2 separate regions of the Homo sapiens genome follow, and region 2 is linked to region 1. Evidence: promoter capture Hi-C in 16 types of primary human blood cells and fetal thymus (Javierre and others, 2016). All regions are on one chromosome and are shown on one strand. The core of a region is centred on a gene start or on the middle of the fragment in contact, and the rest is flanking DNA. Distances in the headings are between cores, read along the strand shown. Region 1 holds the start of RAB7A (RAB7A, member RAS oncogene family). Region 2 holds the start of COPG1 (coat protein complex I subunit gamma 1).

What was found. Contacts are between HindIII fragments. The CHiCAGO score rates a contact against its expected background, and 5 or more counts as called.
Region 2: a contact is called between a fragment that was not itself captured here and the fragment with the promoter of RAB7A in region 1, in 1 of 17 cell types (activated CD4 T cells). The highest score is 5.9, in activated CD4 T cells.

Annotation. Positions count from the first base shown.
Region 1 is chr3:128,723,986-128,729,812 of GRCh38, forward strand. It overlaps RAB7A (RAB7A, member RAS oncogene family), which reads left to right and starts at 2,198. Exons shown (of 6, transcript NM_004637.6): 1 at 2,198-2,374. RefSeq lists enhancers at 1,922-2,051, 2,081-3,065 and a silencer at 2,332-2,621. The HindIII fragment of the contact is 8,952 bases long and covers 1-3,404 here.
Region 2 is chr3:129,246,503-129,252,329 of GRCh38, forward strand. It overlaps COPG1 (coat protein complex I subunit gamma 1), which reads left to right and starts at 3,104. Exons shown (of 24, transcript NM_016128.4): 1 at 3,104-3,244; 2 at 4,180-4,232; 3 at 5,779-5,827. The coding sequence starts at 3,208. The HindIII fragment of the contact is 5,392 bases long and covers 259-5,650 here.

The DNA of each region.
Region 1 (5,827 bases), core at 948-3,447:
TCAAATCCTGCAGTCAGCCCTGCCAAACCTGGGGATGAGGACTACTGCATTCCCAGTTGCTACTTTACCTTCAAACCTAGCATTTTGATTGGCTGCCTAACGGGGTGGAATTATCATAACTCTTGGCCTTTGAAACTATTTTCAGTTTTCATTCCCCTGAATACTCTGCAAATTGTACACATTGAGCACCTACTGTACCCCAACACTGTTTCAAGAATCAGGGATATCGCAGTGAATGAGACAGACAAAAATAGCTGCCTTGTGGAGCTGCCATTCTAGTGGGGAAGACAGACAATATGCAAATAAGTGAGTAGTATAAGAGGAAAAACTTTGGGAGGCTGAGTCGGGAGGATTACTTGACACCATTACTTGACACCAGGAGTTCAAGACTGCCTGGGTAACATAGTGAAAACTTCTCTTTACAAAAAAAAAAAAAAAATTAGCCAGCCATAGTGGTGCACGCCTGTGGTCTCAGCTACTCAGGAGGCTGAGACAGGAGGATCACTTGAGCCCAGAAGTTCAAGGCTGCAGTAAGCCCTGATTATGCCACTGCACTCCAGCATGGGCAACAGAGCAAGAACTTTTCTCAAAAAAAAAAAAAAGAAAAAGAAAATAAAAAAGAAAAAACAGAGGAGAAAAGCAGTAGGGAGATGTCAATTTTTGTGTTTGTATTGTGGTGACAGGGAGAGGGACTTCAGTTTTAAATAGGGAAGGCTATTTCACTGAAAAGGTTACTTTAAAGTCAAGACCAGAGGAAAGTGAGGGAGTGGCCAAGCAGATACCTGGAGGAAGAGCTTTCCAGGTAGAGAGAAGTACAACTGCAGAGGTCTGATGTAGATGTGTGCCTTCTCTTTTCTTTTTTGTTTATCTTTTGGAAGAGACAGTCTTGTTATGTTGCCCAAGCTGGTCTTGAACTCCTGGGCACATGCAAAGTGAAAGCAGAGAAAGAGTGGACTTACCCCAGAGGCGGATGGTTCTGCAGTGTGCAAGGCCATTTCAGAATACACATAGAGAAAACAGGAGAATAGGTGGTGAGGGTTTTGGGGAAAGAGCCAATTTTGGTTGAAAAAGTAGGGGAAACCCCAGACATTGTACCATCTCAGGGTTGAGACTGCTTGCCTAGCTTTTGAGATTTTTTTTTTCCCCAGACCCCTCAACTCCTGAGATCTTATCGGGAAGCTGCTGATCACCAGTTTTAGGTGTTTTTATCTATTGGGAGACTGCCTTTCTCTGGTCTGGCTGCAACCAATTATTATTTTAGAGAGACAGCTTAACCTGACAACCACGTCATGGTTGCCTCACATTGCTGGTCGGGGAGTGGCCCCTCTCCTGCCCTGCTCAGGTCTGACTACTTACTGTAACAATTGCAAGGTTTTTGGATGGAACAATTGAAAGAATGGAGCTTGCATGAACCAAAATAAGAAAAGACTATGAGAGGGCATTGTTGAAGATGGAGGCAAAAATTCTGAGTGGATCCTGATGTGTTCGGATGGGGCTGGTGCTTGGGAGGCTGCTCTGTGCTTACAAGAAGAGTTCTACCCGGTCCATCTTTATCACATCTTCTCTAATACTAAGTTCAGAGAGGCTTTAGCTCATTTTCCATTTTCTTGGGCTGTCTCCTCTGCCAGACAAAGTGCCTATTTCTCCTGTCTCTATCACCGAGCCACACAATTGCTGTAGTCATTTGCAGTCTACTAGAACGATAACACATATTGGCATCAGACAGATCTTGGTTCAAAACCTCGCTCCACCAGTTTCTGTGTTGAGCTAGACCAAGTGACATGATATACTGAGTCTCAGTTCCTTATTTGTAAAATGGTGATAATAATTTTTGGTTAAGTAATTAAAGTAAGGATAAATGATGCCTTTCGAAGAAGGACACAACTGGAATGGCCAGTTTACCCCTTGTCCCCTCTTCGGTGGCATTATTTATTCTGGAGTAAGGAGGGATGGCTGAGGGAATCTGTCTGTGGGTCCAACATGGCGCCGTCCTGCTCCTTGTATGAGCCTCAAAGATGGGGACAACCATTTGGGGGCAGACATGTTTGTAGCACGAGATCCAGGCTCAGTCCCGAGGCAGCCGGAACGTGACGCAAGGTTGAGGCGGGGCTCCTCCCCCGCACCCTGGCGTCGAGCGTCTCGTGACAGGTACTTCCGCTCGGGGCGGCGGCGGTGGCGGAAGTGGGAGCGGGCCTGGAGTCTTGGCCATAAAGCCTGAGGCGGCGGCAGCGGCGGAGTTGGCGGCTTGGAGAGCTCGGGAGAGTTCCCTGGAACCAGAACTTGGACCTTCTCGCTTCTGTCCTCCGTTTAGTCTCCTCCTCGGCGGGAGCCCTCGCGACGCGCCCGGCCCGGAGCCCCCAGCGCAGCGGCCGCGGTAAGCAGCGGGCCCAGCCCGGCCGGCGGCCTGGCCCCATCCCCCCCCTCAGCCCCTCGGTCGCCAGGGCCTCGCGTCCTCCCTGTCCTCCTGGGCAGGCTCCAGTCCCAGCCCTGGCCACGCGGGCACACCCGGCATCGCTCAGGCCCCCGGAGCAGGCCAAGACCCCACCCGGCTTGGAGAGGTCGGAGGTCGTCGGGCGTGACCTCTGGCCGGGTTGCCCGCCCCGGCCACCCGTCTCGGACGCTCTGTTTACTGTTGGCCTGGATCTCAGAGACCCGAGAGGGTTCCTTGACTTGGGCGGCCCTGCGCCGCGGCAGGACGCGCTGGCCAGTGGAGTTCCTTAGCGCGGCGAGCAGGAGGGTGTCAGAGCCCACGCCGCCCGCCGCCGTGCCCACCCGGCGGGCATGGGTCACAGGCGCTGGGGGCCGAGCCGCGTTCCCATCCGGTTCTTCAGTTGAACAGCCTGACCCTGTTAGTGGGAGTTCCCTGACGGCAACTGAGTCAAGGCAGTGAGTCAGGTCACGTGCGCTGGGCTCGCCTCGACACTTGTGTACATTGAGGCGCCTCTGGCGCTGGGAGACAGGGAGCTTTTTGTCCTAGGCATGTTACGGTAAATCCTGAGAGAAGTTTTTCAACTTAATCGAGGAAAGATGGTAGTTGGATGTAGAGTTGTGTTTCCATTCCGACCGTGTTTGGGGCCTCTTTCTGCATTCATTTTAGGCTTGATACCTAATGGGGTCATAAGGGGAATATTGAGAATATTGACAGCAAATATTTGAGCGTTTATTGTATGCTAGGCAGCGTGGCAAGACCTTTTAACAGATCATTATGTTTAGTTCTTTGAACAACCCTCTGAAGTACCACTGTTGTGCCCACTTAACACAGTGGGAAGTTGAACAGAGAGGCTAAGCCATTTGGCCAAGGTCACACAGCTAATAAGTTACGAAGCAGAGATGCAAGCCCAGGCAGTCAGACTCCAGAGCACTGTATTAAATTTCTAGGTTGTACTGCTTTCACGTACCCCTGAAGCTTGCTGGTTTATCTTTTGCTACCTGGTATCTGTACCTCAGTGCCTCCCACCACCTCCTTTCTTTCTATTGATGTCATTTGAAAGTCTTTCTGGTAGCATCAGTTCTCCCTTAAAGCCATAAGAAATGCCGTTTGCGACTTATCACACATATTGTGGTGTAGTGTCACCGAATTAGGAGCTCTTGAATACCGGCAGGGTACTTAACTGAGGTTTGAAAAATTTTGCAGGTAGGCCTGGCAAACCTGCCTAGTGAACCTTTCTTACAACCTTAGTTGATGGCTGTCCAGCCGGCTGGTTCTTCCCTATTCAAAATACTGCATCTTTGGTTTCCTAAAGAACGGACTCTTGTCTCTTTCTTGTGACTTAAGCAGCTGATGAAGCACATGATTTCTCATCCATGGATGAATAAAGTCTCCTCTTAGTGTGTTTCTCTCTTCAAACTTGGGAAGGTTTGTTCAGATTTGAGTTTAAGGACTGGAAGGTGAGTTAGGAGTACTTCTTCTGAAGAAGGGACCGGCTAAGTTAAAGCTTAGCGTTCACAATCCTGTTGTATTCATATTTGTCTTTTTTTTTTTTAACTTTGCTACCTAGCCTAAAATATTTAAGTGAGTAATAAGTACTGTGGCTTTATATAATGTTTGAGTTTAGAGTAATGATAGGCACCTTTTTATTCATTCATTAAGTATTTTGAGTATCCATTGAGTATCAGCAATGTATCAGGCATTGTGGGACATTGACTCAGGGAGATAGGCGTGGTTCCTGTCCTCAAGGAATTTTTAAAAGGTGAATGATCTTGGCCAGAAATTCTGTTGTGGAATAATTTGGCGGTAGAACTTGAGGCTTTTTGGAAAGAGTTATTTCTCATCTCTGCTGGTGAATCAGTAGTAACCCAAAGGATGGTGTTCTTCTGGCTAACTTTAAGGCTTTGTTAATTTTAACAACAGCATTTGTATGGTTTGCTCTTCAGAGAGTGTAGAAGATAATATTACAGTTTCTAATTAATCACATCTTTTAAAGAGTAACCTTCAACACTCAACTTGTTTCTCCTTTTGCTCTAGTGGCATTTATTTTATTTTATTTATATTTTGAGACGGAGTTTCCCTCTTGTTGCCCAGGCTAGAGTGCAATAGCGCGATGTCGGCTCACTGCAACCTCTGCCTCCCGGGTTCAAGCCATTCTCCTGCCTCAGCCTCCCGAGTGGCTGGAATTACAGGCATGCGCCACCATGCCCAGCTAATCTTGTATTTTTAGTAGAGACAGGTTTTCTCCATGTTGGTCAGGCTGGTCTCGAACTGCCTACCTCAGGTGATCCGCCTGTCTCGGCCTCCGAAAAGTGCTGGGATTACAGGCATGAGCCACTGCGCCCGGCCGACTCTGGTAGCATTTTTTTGTTCACTCAAGAGGTAGTCCATGTCACTACTGTAATTACCTTGCACTGCCATGTCTTTGAGCAAAGGTACATTTGGCATGCTGGATTTTTTTCTTCAGCTGGCAAGAAAGTTTAATGTAGCACTGATAGTGTACTGGCCATAGTTTCAGTACCATTCTACATAGAAAAGCTGTGTTACCCTATCTCCCACAACTTTCTAGATTCCCTTCTTTAAGGGAAGATTTGGATTTTACATTTGTGGTAGAACTGCATAAGTAAACAGAGGGTGGAATGTAGAAGATAGTCTAAAAATAGTTTTATTAGTATATCCTTCTAGGTAGTTAGCAACCACTTGGGGCAATTTTTTTTAAAATTTTTTTTTAGTGCCAACTGTGTCTAAGCTCACCAACCCTGTAATCAGAGAACAACTCTTTATAGTAAAGTGTGGCTTTGAATCAGTTTTCTGACCCCACTGCCAAGTGAAGCCAAAAAATTTTGGTTATTTGATTAGCTTTTAATATGTCTTCAGCTGGGCACGGTGGCTCACGCCTGTAATCCCAGCACTTTGGGAGGCCGAGGCAGGTGGATCATGAGGTCAGGAGATCGAGACCATCCTGGCTAACACAGTGAAACCCCATCTCTACTAAAAATACAAAAAATTAGCCGGGCGTGGTGGCGGGCGCCTGTAGTCCCAGCTACTCGTGAGGCTGAGGCAGGAGAATGGCGTGAACCCAGGAGGCAGGGCTTGCAGTGAGCAGAGATCATGCCGCTGCACTCCAGCCTGGGCGACAGAGCGAGACTTCTTCTCAAAAAAAAAAAAAAAAAAAGTCTTCAAAGGGATCTTCACTAATAACGTTTTTGCTCTTACTTTGGCATTAGACTTTGTAAACAAAGATGTAGCAAACACAGACCACGCAAATATGACAGTTGTCTTATGCACATTCCTCTCTGGCATTTGACACAAATATTTTAGTTTTTCCTATGATAAAGTATTTATCTCCCCATTCATTTAATTCAACAAATACAGCTGAGATAGATTTGACCAGATGTT
Region 2 (5,827 bases), core at 1,705-4,204, 520 kb after region 1:
TAGCCATCAGGAAAGTGCAAATTGAAACCTCTTCACACCCACTAGCATGGCTATAATCAAAAAGACAGTAACAAGTGTTGACAAGGATATGAAGAAATTGAAACCCCCATACACTGCTGGTGGGAATGTAAAATGGTGCAGCTGCTTTGGAAAAGCAGTTAGACAGTTCTCAAAAAGTTAAACATAGTTACCATATGACCTAGTAATACCACTCTTAGGTATAGACCCAAGAGAAGTTAAAACATAGGGTTGCACAAAAGCTTGTACATTAATGTTCACAGCATTCACAGCTTTGTTCACAAGAGCTAGACTGGAAACAAGCCAAATGTCCATCAACTGATTAACAAACAAAATATAGTAAATCCATAAAATGGAATATTATCCAGCTACAAAAGGAATGAAGTACTGATTCATGCTATAACATGTCTTGAAAACATGCTAAATGAAAGAAGCAAAACACACAAAAGACTACATAGCATATGATTCTGTTTATATGAAATATCCAGAACATGCAAATCTATAGACAGAAAGTAGATTAGTGGTTGCCAGGGGCTGGGCAGATGGGCAAATGGAAAGTGACTGCTAATGAATAGCTTTCTTTTTGGGATGATGAAAATGTTCTCCAATTAGTGCGGACAGGTACATAAACTTTTTTTAATATACTAAAACCCACTGAATTGTACACCTATTTATATATGCATGTGTGTGTGTGTGTGTGTGTGTGTGTATATATATATATATGTATATACACTTTTTTTTTTTGAGACAGAGTCTCGCCCGTCACCCAGGCTGGAGTGCAATGGCACGATCTTGGCTCAGGGCAACCTCCACCTCCTGAGCAATTCTCCTGCCTCAGCCTCCCGAGTAGCTGGGATTACAGGCATCTGCCACCATGCCCAGTGAATTTTTATATTTTTAGTAGAGACGGGGTTTCACCATGTTGGTCAGGTTGGTCTCAAACTCTTGACCTCAGGTGATTCACCCTCCTCAGCCTCCCAAGTGCTGGAGGCGTGAGCCACCTCGCCTGGCCACCCCTATGTATTTTTTGAGACAGGGTCTTGCTCTGTTGCCCACGCTGGAAGTACAGAGGCATGATCATGGCTCACTGCAGCCTTGACCTCCCAGGCTTAAGCAATCCTCCCATCTCAGACTCCTGGAGTAGCTGAGACAAGATAAAAATCAGTTTAGTCCTCAGATGTACCATAACTTCCTTAATCATCCCTTTATTGATAGACATTTAGGGTGTTTACAATTATTTTGCTGCAAACTGCTGCAGCAGGCAACTTCATTTTCTTTTTTCTTTTTTTTGAGACAGTTTCGCTTTTGTTGCCCAGACTCCAGGCTGGAGTGCAACGGCGTGATCTCAGCTCACTGCAGCCTCCGCCTCCCAGGTTCAAACGATTCTCCTGCCTCAGCCTCCCGAGTAGCTGGGATTACAGGTATGCACCACCACGCCAGGCTAATTTTTTTTTTTTTTGTATTTAGTAGAGATGGGGTTTCACCATGTTGGTCAGGCTGCTCTCAAACTCCTGACCTCAGGTGATCCACCTGCCTCAGCCTTCCAAAGTGCTGGGATTACAGGCTTGAGACACTGCGCCCGGCCTCATTTTCTTCTTTTGAACAATTTCCTCCTGATTAGGGGTGGGGTTACCGATCAGACATTTTGAACATCTTTCTGACTCTTGACAATTTTGCATGTCACAAGATCTGTTGTCCTTGGCCCTAGCCTCTGCAAAGCCAGACCCTAAGGGCTGGCCCCTCTGACATCTCCCTTCCTCCAGCTTTGCGGTCACCCTTTTCACCTGGGGCCTCTGCCTCAGCCTCCTGCCTCTCCTCTCCACAGCCCACTCCTTCTCCTGCCCACAGGCCTGCGGGCTTCCCCTCCCCAGGCAAGCTGGGGCCGTGTCGCAGCGCTTGGCCATCACGACTTTGCCATTGCCAATGCAATCTGGCTCACTGGCATGCACTGTGCTTACCTTAGCCTCAGGGTGTCCTGCATAGGTCCCCAGGAAGATAAACCCTGGGTGATGTGTCATTTTCCCCTTTCCGTTCCTTCCCACGCCCTTCCCCCCACCTCCCCGCGTAGGCAGCGCATCTAGTTGGCACTCCATAAATATCCAAAGTATTTACAAAATAACGTAGAAGTTCTATGCTGTTTAGTTAGATCTCTTAAGGTTGATAATGTACAAGGCAATTTGCATCAGGAGCAGACGAGATAGGGCCCGGCAGATATAAATTAAAAATGCAATTGCACGCATTCATTCAACGAGAACTCACTGAGCAACTACTATGTGCCAACATTATCCACTGCAGTGAATAAAAGACAAACAAACAAGCAAATAACAAAAAAAAAAACAAAAGAGCAAGAAAGTGGCCGGGTGCAGTGGCTCACCGCTGTAATCCCAGCACTTTGGAAGGTCGAGAAAGGAGGATCGCTTGAGGCCACGAGTTCAAGACCAGACTGGGCAACATCATAGTGAGACCTCGTCTCTACAAAAATTAAAAAATTAGTCGGGGGTGGTGCGCCCAGCTCTACTCGGGAGGCTGAGGTGGGAGGATCGCTTGAGCCCAGGAACTGTAGGCTGCAGTGAGCCAGGATCGCACAACTGCACCACAGCCTGGGCAGCAGAACGAGAAATAAATAAACAAATAAAAGCCAGAAAGTAAAAATAAAGTGTTAGATGGCGATTCGAGCTGAGGAGGAAATCAGGCAGGGGAAAGAATCTGAAAGCGAGGAGTGAGTGGCTGGCAAGGCTCCTTCGGAAGGTGGCAATAACAGTCATAGACCGGTCACATCAATTGGGTGTTTACTGCGGGCCAGTGTGTGCCACCAACCTCACACCCGAAAGCCACAAAGACTCACGCCACAACGCAACGAGGCAGGGGCTCCTCCTCCTCCCTTGGTATACGGAAAGAAGCGTAGGGAGCAGAGTTGGGATGCTAGTCAGTACCCCCCTGCACCTAGCCCTTGCCCCTCCGTCTGGCTTTCCCCACTCCCGCTCCGGCGGAGCTAAGGTTAACATTAGACGAGGCTGTGGCTACCGGAAAGAGCGCAGGCGCAGAGCGCGGAATGCGCCTGCGCAGAGCGCTGGGCGACGTGGCCAGTCGGGGCCCGGAAGTGGTCCCTGTAGAACCACTGTGGCACCGCTACTCCGTGCCGCGCCCGTCGAGCATTGCGTTGCTGCATTGCGCCCCACCGACTCCACTATGTTGAAGAAATTCGACAAGAAGGATGAGGAGTCAGGTGAGGGGGCCAGGCCTGGGTCTGAGGGAGGCCGGACCCCCACCCGCCGAGCTTTCCTTCTGGTTCTCTGTCCTGACCCGGAGGCTGAGGCCCAGTGAGGGGCAGGGGCTTGTGCCAGGGTCCACAGCTAGTCAGTGGCAGGCCTCGGAGAGCCCGAGCATGCGCGGCTGTCTCACTCTTGTAAGCTCGGACTGCAATTTTCTGGGTGACCTTGGGCGCGACAAACACCCCCCCCCCCAGGCCTCAATTTACCCATCTGTCAAAGGAGGGGACCATGCCGAATGTTCTCTTGTTACTTTCTTCGTCCAACCTCTTGGGATTCGCTGGGGCTACGTTGGTGCTGGCCAAACTGGGGTGTAACCTGCGGAGCCAGCGTCCTGTGACTGGGAACTCTGACCCCATCATTCATTTATTCAGCAAAGTATATTGAGCAGTTACTGTATGCCAGGTACTGTACGGTGTCCTGGATACTGCAACAGAGCAAGTGGGACACTCAGTGCCTGAGCTAGGAATATTAGAATGGTTGCACCCACGATGGAGGAGGCAGACATCAACCAGATAATCACACGTGTAATTATTTGCAAATGTGTCATCTGCTATGAAGGAACTAGTTACAACGAGATGGTGGTCCCTGGCACATAGGGACTTAGTTAATTACAAGTTATATAAATGAACACAAGACATGGCACCATGAGAAGCACAGGACTGTACCAGGGCTGCTGGGAGATTGTGAGTGGTTTGGGGTAGAGTGGAGCCCACCTGCTTGCAGGAGACTAGTAGGATCCCTAGACAGATTGTAGAGGCTTGATTGCCATTCCTGAGGAGTTTGAACTTTACTAGATTTCCTAGGAAGGGACATCTTCCCTTTACCTATGTCTGGGAGAGTTTTGAAGTTCAGAGTCACAACCTACCTTCTCCATTGTCCTTGACCGTAGGTGGAGGCTCCAACCCATTCCAGCACCTTGAGAAGAGTGCGGTACTCCAGGAGGCAAGTGACATTTGCTCCCCTCTAGCTTCCATCATAAATATTCACCACCAATGCAACTGAAATACCAACACATTCAAAGTGTTGTTTTAAAGAGCAACACGGGAGAAAACTTGTGCCTGGAAGTTTTCTGGAAGACAGGAAAACTTTGTTTCTGGAGAGAGTTAGTTATGCTTACTTCTTTTTTTTTTTTTTTTTTTTTTTTTTTCTGAGACAGAGTCTTGCTCTGTCGCTCAGGCTGGAGTGCAGTGGCGTGATCTCGGCTCACTGCAAGCTCCGCCTTCCAGGTTCACGCCATTCTCCTGCCTCAGCCTCCCAAGTAGCTGGGACTACAGACGCCCGCCACCACACCCGGCTAATTTTTTGTATTTTTAGTAGAGACGGGGTTTCACCGCGTTAGCCAGGACGGTCTTGATCTCCTGACCTCGTGATCCACCCGCCTCGGCCTCCCAAAGTGCTGGGATTACAGGCTTGAGCCACCGCGCCTGGCCTCTCTATTTAAACATTTAAAAAATTTCTCTATTTAAAGTTAATTCCAAAGCTAAGGAAACTGGTTTAAAACTATCACCTAAGCTAGACTGTGGCCATTATGCAGGTAGAGATTTTGCATGACTTGTTTATTTTTATTATATATATTTTTTATATATATATATATATGTATTTTTTTTTAGAAGGCGTCTCACTCTGTTGCTCAGGCTGGAGTGCAGTGGCACGATCTCGGCTCAACTGCAACCTCTGCCTCCTGGGTTCAAGCAATTTTTCTGTCTCAGCCTCCCAAGTAGCCGGGACTACAGGCGCACGCCACTATGCCTGGCTGATTTTTATATTTTTAGTAGAGATGAGGTTTCACGATGTTGGCCAGGCAGGAGAATGGTGTGAATCCTGACCTCTTGATCCTCCCGCCTCGGCCTCCCAAAGTGCTGGGATTATAAGCGTGAGCCACCGCGCCCGGCCACTTCTCTTTTTTTTTTTGAGATGGAGACTTGCTGGTGTCAGCCTGGGGTGGAGTGCAATGGCATGATCTTGGCTTGCTGCAACCTCCGCCTCCTGGGTTCCAGCAATTCTCCTGCCTCGGCCTCCCGAGTAGCTGAGATTACAGGTGCCCACCACCATGCCTGGCTAAGTTTTGTATTTTTAGTACAGACGGGGTTTCACCATGTTGGCCAGGCTGGTCTCGAACTGACCTCAGGTGATCCACCCGCCTCGGCCTCCCAAAGTGCTAGGATTACAGGTGTGAGCTACTGCGTCCAGCCGCTTCTTTCTTTATTGTTGTCGTTCATTGTTTCTGTTTCCAGTTAGCAGATGGTTGCTAAGTATCTGCTAGTCAATAGGTTAGCACATCCCTAACTAATATTTACACGAGAGTCTAAGAATAATTAGTAGTTGATTAAAGAAAAACAAACCCTTTCCTTATGAAAATAAGCTTGTTGCATACCCAGAAAGCCCTGTTTAGACAAGTCAGTTTACCCTGAGACTTCTCAGACATTGAATATACTTGAAGGGAAATGAACTAGGCTAGAAGGTAACATCTTTGGTCATTTCTTCTTAGGCCCGTGTATTTAATGAAACTCCCATCAACCCTCGGAAATGTGCCCACA